Linked DNA regions of Homo sapiens: region 2 is linked to region 1. Evidence: promoter capture Hi-C in human tissues and cell types (Jung and others, 2019). All regions are on one chromosome and are shown on one strand. The core of a region is centred on a gene start or on the middle of the fragment in contact, and the rest is flanking DNA. Distances in the headings are between cores, read along the strand shown.

The links. The method cuts DNA at HindIII sites, captures the fragments that hold promoters and counts their contacts. A contact is called where the count stands out against the background at its distance.
Region 2: a fragment that was not itself captured here is called in contact with the fragment with the promoter of NEK3 in region 1 in 1 of the 25 tissues and cell types used here (mesenchymal stem cells).

Annotation. Positions count from the first base shown.
Region 1 is chr13:52,156,720-52,161,531 of GRCh38, forward strand. It overlaps NEK3 (NIMA related kinase 3), which reads right to left and starts at 2,878. Exons shown (of 16, transcript NM_002498.3): 1 at 2,824-2,878. LOC124903176 (a long non-coding RNA gene) reads left to right here. Exons shown (of 2, transcript XR_007063806.1): 2 at 1-627. RefSeq lists silencers at 2,565-2,674, 2,755-2,814, 4,575-4,812. The HindIII fragment of the contact is 9,103 bases long and covers 1-4,812 here.
Region 2 is chr13:52,216,134-52,220,641 of GRCh38, forward strand. It overlaps the pseudogene TPTE2P2. Among named protein-coding and RNA genes, the nearest start is that of NEK3, 59 kb to the left of the region's middle. The HindIII fragment of the contact is 3,910 bases long and covers 831-4,508 here.

The DNA of each region.
Region 1 (4,812 bases), core at 1,628-4,127:
CATATGAGCCCCCTGGTCTAACCACTTCTTTACATTTATGCATAAACCTTTTTTCCTGTTAATCTATCTTTCATCAGTTTATTTTGCAGGGCCCAGCTACTGAACCTAAGAGGGCAGAGAAAAAATGTTTTTCCTCCCCTATACTACATACAACAGGCAGACACTGAGCACCAACTCTGAGTCAGATGTTATAATCTGAAAAATCTCTCATAGTCCCTGCCAACGTGGACATCCCATGCAGAGATAACCATAAACCTCAACAAATGTAGGCTATTTAAGCTGAAGCCTGAAGGATGAATGAAACTTGGCTAGACAAAGAGGAGGAAAAGAGTAATCAAGGAAGAGGAAATTGCATATTTAAGAGCTAAAGAAATTACATTCAGTTCAAGAAATTGAAAGAAGAATGTAACAAGCTGCTGAAGCATTTTAACCAAGAAGGCAATATAATCATATTTGCATATTAGAAAAAACATTCACTCAGATTGCAGATTAAATGGACCAGTGGAGGAGGGGCAGGAAGGCCAGCTCAGAGACACAGGCCAGTTAGGAGGCTCCAACAATAGAAAAGGCAGGAAAATAATGAAATGGAATAGAGTGGAGGCAATGGGGTCAGAAAAAATGGGAAGGAAAGATGTAAGAACAGTTGACAGGATTTGTGGTGGCAGATTTATGGGGGGCAAGCAGAGAAGGGGGCAAGGTTGACTCCCAAGTTTCTGGCATGAACCAGATGGTTTCTTGGCACTCCCTGAGAGAGGAAAGGCACAATGGTTGTGTGTGTGGTTTTTTGTTTGTGTGATTTTTCTGGAAGTGGGAGTGTTGCAGGGGTTGGGCAAAACATATTGATAGAAGACAGACATGTGTTTCATTTTGGACATGCCAAACTGGAGGTTCCTGGGAGTCAAGAGAGATGTTAAACACACAGTTGGAGTCCTTGACTTCAGTCTCCCATCTATATTTCCAGGATGAAGCAGCTAGCGGGACTGCTTAGCACATAAGAGAAAATGGATAAAACGTTCCTAACACTTTGCCTGGTACATACAAGGTCCTGAATAACTGGCAGCTATTATGATTATTAAAACCTTAGGGAAGTGATGCATTCTTTTTCATTGCAGGAAAAACACTGTAATGAATTTACTTGATTTTTCAAAAAGCTTACAGTGTTTGTTTTTTATTTTGAGACGGAGTCTCGCTCCTGTTGCCCAGGCTGGAGTGCAATGGTGCGATCTCGGCTCACCGCAACCTCCACCTCCCAGGTTCAAGTGATTCTCCTGCCTCAGCCTCCCGAGTAGCTGGGATTACAGGCATGCGCCACCACGCCCGGCTAATTTTGTATTTTTAGTAGAGACGCGGTTTCTCCATGTTGGTCAGGCTGGGCTCGAACTCCCGACCTCAGATGATCCGCCCGCCTCGGCCTCCCAAAGTGCTGGGATTACAGGCGTGAGCCACCCCGTCCGGCCCTAGTGTTCGTTTTTTAATTACACCACAAAGAATTATAAGGCAGAGAGAGCATGACAGGCAAAGCAAAAATCAAACTAAAACCTCTACTATAGTGACCTGTAAAAATTCCAGTTTGTATTACTGTTTATCACAGAATTACCAGGAAATCCTAGAAATAATTTCTTCATATAACCAAATCAGTCATACACATTGTCTTCGAAACAATGTTTTTCCAAGATCGATGAGGTCTTTTGAGTGTATATAGATGTGAAAGAAACAAGTCCTTTACTACTATTCTAACACCTGGTATTACACGGTTTAACATGGAAGCCAAGTTTCCCCATGATCTTATTCTTCGTTTCTTCGGGGCTTTATTCTATGCAATGGAGAGTAACTGAAAATTAAGAGCAACCAGACTTCTTAGCTGAAAACCACATTTGATATTTTCTGCCCACATTTGCCTGTTACTCAATATTACACCCATATGATCATTACAAGACCTGAATACACTCTGGACATGGCAAAAGTATATCGGCCCCTTCGCATGCCTGCAACAATACTTTTAAAAACCTAATAAAGTGATTTGCAAATACCCAGAAGTGGGATCACCAGTGAGATACGGGCTAAGTTCAGAAAGGTCCCTGAAACCACCTTTACAGATGTATAAGTAATGCGAGAAATCTAACATGACTGACTCCATCTTGCTTCTAACCTCACGGGCTAAGTTTTCACCGTGTTGTCGTTTTCTTATTCTAGCACAGAGGCTAGGATAACTGGGAGAGGGATTTCGTGTAAACTTCAAGACAAGGGAAACTGACCCCACCCCTTCCTGGGAACCAACGAAGCCGCCCCGAGTTTCAGAAGCTCTTGTGATTTCATCCCCAGCCGGTCAACTGTTTCAGTTCCCCAGCCCCCCGAAGCCAAAATGCCCTTTAAAACCCTCGCCCCCGAATTCTCGGGGAGACAGGTCTGAGACCCTGTTCTGGTTTGGCCAGCCCTGCGCTTATTAACTTCTTTTTTTGCTGCAACAGCGGTTCTCACTGGTTCTTTCCGGGCAGCGAGCGAGAAGAATCCGTTGAGCCGGGGCCGGCGCCCGCGGGGCAACTGCACCGCGGGGGAGCCCAGTCGCCCCGCTCACCCGTGAGGGCCCTTTCTCCTGGAAAAGCCGCTCCGCCCTGCTGACCCCCACGGCACCGCGCGCCCAGACCCCAAGGCGGCGAGGGACTTGCGGGTTTGCGGCGAGTGGTCCAGACCGCGGGGCGGAAGTGAGGGGCGCGGCCGCGCGTCCGGGGCGCGTCTACCCCTCGCTCCCACTCGGCTCCGCGCCGCGACCACGCGCCGCCCTCCTCGTTCTAGAGGCAGCCCGCCAGGGCGGGGACCACTCACCCGCTTCCCCGGCGACCCTAGTCCACTCCTTGGCCTGGCAACCGGCGGCTTCCGCGGGGCGGGCCCGGCGGGTCGTCTCTCGGGTTGCGGGTGAAGGAAGCCGCCTGGGTCTGGCGGGAGGCACTGTTCTTGGAGTAGCCGGGCCTACGAAGAGCACGTTTTAAAGCTGTTGTTCCACGTTGCGGTGGAACAGTGCTGTTAACATTGAGGGAAATTGTCCCCGACTAACTGAGTTCTGTCTGCAGGTTAAGTGAAAGCCTATGTAGATAAATTTCACGGGCACAGCACTCAGTGCTAGCTAGAACTTACTAGCTATGTGACCTTGGGCAATTGTGGAAGGCGGGATAATGCTTCCGCCTCAGGATGTCCACATCCTACTCCCTGGAACCTGTGCGTTTGTTCTCTTGCTTGGCAGAGGGGGTTAAGATTGCAGATGGAATTAAGGTTGCTTATCAGCGGACTTTAAAATAAGGTGACGATCTTGGAGTGTGTGCTTGGGTAATTACAAAGTAATTACAAGGGTTCTCTAAAGTGGAAGGGGCCCAAAAAGAAGGTCAGTATGAGAAAGCTATTTGAAGGTGGAGGAAGGGGCAACAGCCAAGGAATGCAGCTGGCCTCAAGAAGCTGGAAGAGGAGCAGGCACAGTGTCTCATGTTTGCAATCCCAGTGCTTTGGAAGGCAGAGGCAGGAGAGGAACACTTTAGCCCAGGAGTTCGAGATCAGCCTGGGCAACATAGTGAGACACTCGTCTCTACGAAAAATTAACTAGACATAGCGACGGGCACTGTGGTCCCAGCTGCTCGGGGGATTGGGGCAGGAGGATCACTAGAGCTGGAGAGGGCTCATGATCCCACCACTGCAGTCCAGCTTTGGTGACAGAGCAAGAACCTGTCTCCAAAAAAAAAAAAAAATATATATATATATATATATATATATATAAAGGAGGAGGTGGGAGGTGGAAAAGGAGGAGAAGCTAGAAAAGGAGGGAAAAACAAAAAACAAAAACCAAATTGTTCCCCAGAGCTTCCAGAAGTAACAGTCCAGCTGACCCCTTGATTTTTTTGTTTTTTGAAACAGGGTCTTGCTATGTTGCCAAGACTGGTTTTGAGCTCCCGGGCTCAAGCGATCCGCCCACCTCAGCCTCCTGAGTGGCTGGGACTACAGGAAAACCACCATGCACACTGACGCCTTGATTTTAACCCAGTGAGCTGTATTTCTGAACTTCAGAACTGTAAGGTAATAAATTCGTGTCGTTTTAGCCACTTAGGTTGTCACAGTTTGTTACAGAAGCCTTAGGAAACTAATACAGCAGAGTAACTAAATCCCTCTGTATAAAAGTATAGAACCTACCTCATAGGATTACTGTGAACAACATCTGGTTACCCTTTACTTGTAAGCGCTGAACGTGTTCATTATAACGTGTCAACCAGAGTCAGAGAGACCGAAATCCAAGTAAAGAAGTTTATTGGCAGTCTGAGAATTGCAGTTCAAGGAACACAGATTCCAGAAGCATTTGAATTGTGTCCTGACCAGCTATTTTTGGGTAGGGTTTTTAAAGGAAGTAAGAAGTCAGTTCTCACTAGTTCATCCATAACCTTCGTAACCCACTATTTTGATTGAAGATAAAGCGTTATCATGACAGTTCATTGGTTTCTAGGCAAAAGTCCTTGATTCAGGGGTTTGAGAAAAGTTCAGTCCTCAGCATGAAGTCCTTTTCATAATGGCAGCAATTTTGTCTGCAACATCAGCAAGTACATTCTGCAGTCAGGCAGTTGTAAAATGGCATTCAGGAACAAAATGGCTTTGCTCTGGCCAGCTCCAATTGCCTTCCTTCCACAATGTCAAAGTTAATGTACAACTATTCTGTAGTGTGGTGATAAGAGAAGGGAAATGCTACAAATCAACATTTACAACATCTGCACTGCTTTCTTTGTACTCTATACAAAGACTAGTTTCAATTAAAAACAAAGAAGGCCAGGCACGATGGCT
Region 2 (4,508 bases), core at 1,536-4,035, 59 kb after region 1:
AGAGGTACAAAGAGAAACTGGTACCAATCCTTTTGAAACTATTCCAAACAACGGAAAAAGAGGGAATCCTCCCTACTTCATTTTATGAGGCCAGCATCATCCTGATACCAAAACCTGGCAGAGACACAACAAAAAAAGGAAATTTCAGGCCAATATCCCTGATGAACATCGATGTGAAAATTCTCAATGAAACACTGGCAAACCGAATCCAGCAGCACATCAAAAAGCTTATCCACCACAATCAAGTCGGCTTCATCCCTGGGATGCAAGGCTGGTACAACATATGCAAATCAATAAACATAATCCATCACATAAACAGAACCAATGACAAAAACCACATGATTATTTCAATAGATGCAGAAAAGGCCTTTGACAAAATTCAACAACCCTTCATGCTAAAAACTCTCAGTAAACTAGGTATCAATGAAACGCATCTGAAAATAATAAGAGCTATTTATGACAGACCCACAGCCAATATCATAGTGAATGGGCAAAAACTGGAAGCATTCACTTTGAAAACTGGCACAAGACAAGGATGCCCTCTCTCACCACTCCTATTCAACATAGTATTGGAAGTTCTGGCCACGGCAATCAGGCAAGAGAAAGAAATAAAGCATATTCCAATAGGAAGAGAGGAAGTCAAATTGTCTCTGTCTGCAGATGACATGATTGCATATTTAGAAAACCCCATCGTCTCAGCCCAAAATCTCCTTAAGCTGATAAGCAACTTCAGCAAACTCTCAGGGTACAAAATCAATGTGCAAAAATCATAAGCATTCCTATACACCAATAATAGACAAACAGAGAGCCAAATCATGAGTGAACTCCCATTCACAATTGTTACTAAGAGAATAAAATACCTAGGAATACAACTTACAAGGGATGTGAACGAGCTCTTCAAGGAGAACTACAAACCACTGCTCAAGGAAATAAGAAAGGACACAAACAAATGGAAAAACATTCTATGCTCATGGATAGGAAGAATCAATATCGTGAAAATGGCCATATTGCCCGAAGTAATTTATAGACTCAATGCTATCCCCATCAAGCTACCACTGACTTTCTTCACAGACTTGGAAAAAACTACCTTAAACTTCATATGGAACCAAAAAAGAGCCCACATAGACAAGACAATCCTGGGCAAGAAGTACAAAGCTGGAGGCATCATGCTACCAGACTTCAAACTATACTACAAAGCTACAGCAAACAAAACAGCATGGTACTGGTACCAAAACAGATATATAGACCAATGGAGCAGAACAGGGGCCTCAGAAATAACACCACACATCTACAACCATCTGATCTTTGACAAACCTGACACAAACAAGCAATGGGGAGAAGATTCCCTATTTAATAAATGGTGTTGGGAAAACTGGCTAGCCATATACAATTCTTAAACATTTTTTGTAAGCCTTCTTTTGCATTTTGATAAAGCTTTAAGGGCTCCTTTCAGGTCCAGGGGGAGATGGTAAACACTAACCACTGGCAGTTATCATGACACTAACCCTAGTGTAGGTTCTGGGGATGTTGTAGGGTGGTTTCAGTTCAATCTTTTTCTTCTGTTTAGAATTTGTATTGAAATGATTTCACCTGGCTGGGCATGGTGGTTCACACCTGCAATCCCAGCACTTTGGGAGGCCAAGGCAAGTGGATCACCTGTGGTCAGGAGTTTGAGATTAGCATGGCCAACATGGTGAAACCCCATCTCTACTAAAAATACAAAAATTAGCTTGGCGTGGTGGCAGGCACCTATAATCCCAGCTACTTGGGAAGCTGAGGCAAAAGAATCACCTATACCTGGGAGACGGAGGTTGCAGTGAGCCAAGATTACAACACTGCACTCCAGCCTAGGCGACAGAGACTCTGTTTAAAAAAAAAAAAAGAAAAAGAAAGGTGGGTTCCCTTGCATTTTCTCAGACATTTCTGATCCTTCACCTCCTCAAATCTGGTTCAGACAACCTCTTCCACTACTCTGCATTTTGCTAATGGTATAAAAGTGGCCAGACATGGTGGCACATGCCTGTAATTCCAACACTTTGGGAGGCCGAGACGGGTGGATCACTGGAGGTCAGGAGTTCAAGACCAGCCTGGCCAACATGGTGAAACCCCATCTCTACTAAAAATACAAAAATTAGCCAAGCATGGTGGCATGCACGTATAGTCCCAGCTACTGGGGAGGCTGAGGTGAGAGAATCACCTGAGCCCAGGAGGTTGAGGCTGCAGTGAGCCAAGATCCTACTACTGCACTCCAGTCTTGGCAACCAGAGTGAGACCACGTCTCAAAAAGTACAAAATAAAAATAAAAAATTTTGTTTAATTAGCCAGGTGTGGTGGCACGCACCTGTAATCCCAGCTACTCAGGAGACTGAGGTAGGAGAATCACTTGAACCTAGGAGGTAGAGGTTGCAGTGAGCCGAGATCGTGCCACTGCACTCCAGCCTGGGTGACAGAGTGAGACTGTCTCAAAAAAAAAAAGAAAGTGTTTAATAAAAAAGTAGCATCCAGCACCAATGAGGAAATAATAATGATTCCCTGTGGACACAGGGCTAAACACTGTTTACACTGAAAAGATTACCTCCCTTCAGAGTTCCCCCAGGGCTTAGGTGACATTGGTTGTGAGCAGGAGTAGTGGATTTCAAAATAATACACCTAAATTACTCTAAGAACAAATATTTCTTTTGACTTCACTTACAATTTTATACAAAAGCAGAAGTTACTGAAGGTTACTTCTCCTTCATATTTACTACGCCCTTCTTACCCCAACCCCCATGTCTGTGTGTAATTAAAGGAAGCTTGTTAAGTAAGCTACCCATTTAGTGCTTGGAACAAGAGAAAAGTGTGTGTTGGGAGTTGGGGGACTGCTTGTGTGAAATATTTCTCTCTTCTGGGTTTAAAACTTAGTCTTTGCTGCCAATCTGTTAACAGTTTGTAAATCGAGTAGAAGGAAAAATATAAATTAGCTTTCTAATAAACCTGAAATTACAAATGTGAAAAAAAGCAGGGAATAAATACCTGACCAAAAATGTATAAGTAAGTGGGTGTTGGGGGATCACAATTTTTAATTATCTCTCAATTATTTTGATACGAAAGTTCTATTTCAAAGTTCTTCAAAATGACGCCTAATGTTCCTAAGTACTGTGTTCCAAATGTATGTAAATACAAGATGGAAACTGTGAAATATATGCCTTCAAAAAGAAAAAAAACCTGACATTTTATCTGTATATATTTAATAGATTTATAAAGAACATGTGTATACATATATCAATATAGATGTACCAGCAAGGAAGATTTAGAACATATAACTATGTGGCAGGGTTAGAAAGAACATAATTCTTTCCCAGAAGGGGTGCAGGGAACTATACTTAATCAGCTACCAGTTACAACATAACTTAAGTCATTTCTCATTAAAATATATCTCTACTGCATATTCTGGTTGATAAATTTTCCATGTTTTTTGTTTATGAAGATTATCCAATTCATTTCTTTGTAGATAAAGCCTAAGAATAGAAAAAAAAATTGTTACATTTTATTTTGGGGCTAACTGAAAAGCCATGTAGTAGGCACCCTTGTTAGAGCTTGAAGAAACAAACAAAAAAAAGACTTGCTCACCATGAATAGAACCTCAGCCCCTTTTTGTGTCTCAGTTGGCTCCTTCTACCTTTTCGGTGAGACTTAAAAATATCTTAATCTTCAGCAACACATCAGTAACACATGCTACTGATTCTTTTAACGTTGCTTTTTATGGAATTAATGACATCTAGGTTTAATACAGTATCTAAATTTCTATATGTGACAGAAATCAGTCTGATTAGACATGTATCAAAACCCAATAATAAAATACTATATCTCTTTTAATTTATGCCTGAGGTTGCAATTTTTTGAATTTTTGCAATCAGCCCTTGGCGATGACCTTGAGCAGTAGGATATAAATAAATCCCACATGCTTAGCATTCCAATAATGGAACACTAGGCATAAATTGGTTAACCCATTTATGCCTAGTGTTCTAAAAGACAGAAGTTGGCATTTTTGGCTAAACAACAATTTCACAACTAAGAAAAACAGCTTTACCAATAGTATATAAATTTAAATATTACAGAAATCTTTAGAAATTTATATAAAAGTGAAAATAAAGGTGATCTAACTTATTGCTTCCCCAAAATGAACATGGTGTTTCAAAGGAAAAATCTGTATCCTTTACCAAGAATCAATTTGAGGAGCAGCAACAAATGAAGCTCCACCCAGCTCTCACAATTGAGGGACTTTGCTCATGTTAGGAGTCAAAGCTTATTGTTTGTATGCATCCAAGAAACAAATTTTTAAAAAATTTCCATCCAATCCAAAGTTCACTCTATCAAAATCTATTAAATGTGTATGTATTGCAAGTGTGTAGACCAGAGGTTTAATTTACTGTTGCCTTGCTGGACTTAAGGAGTTATTAGATCCAGCTCAGATTTGAAGAAAAGACTAGAACTGGTTGTAACAATAACTACCAATTCATGCCACATGC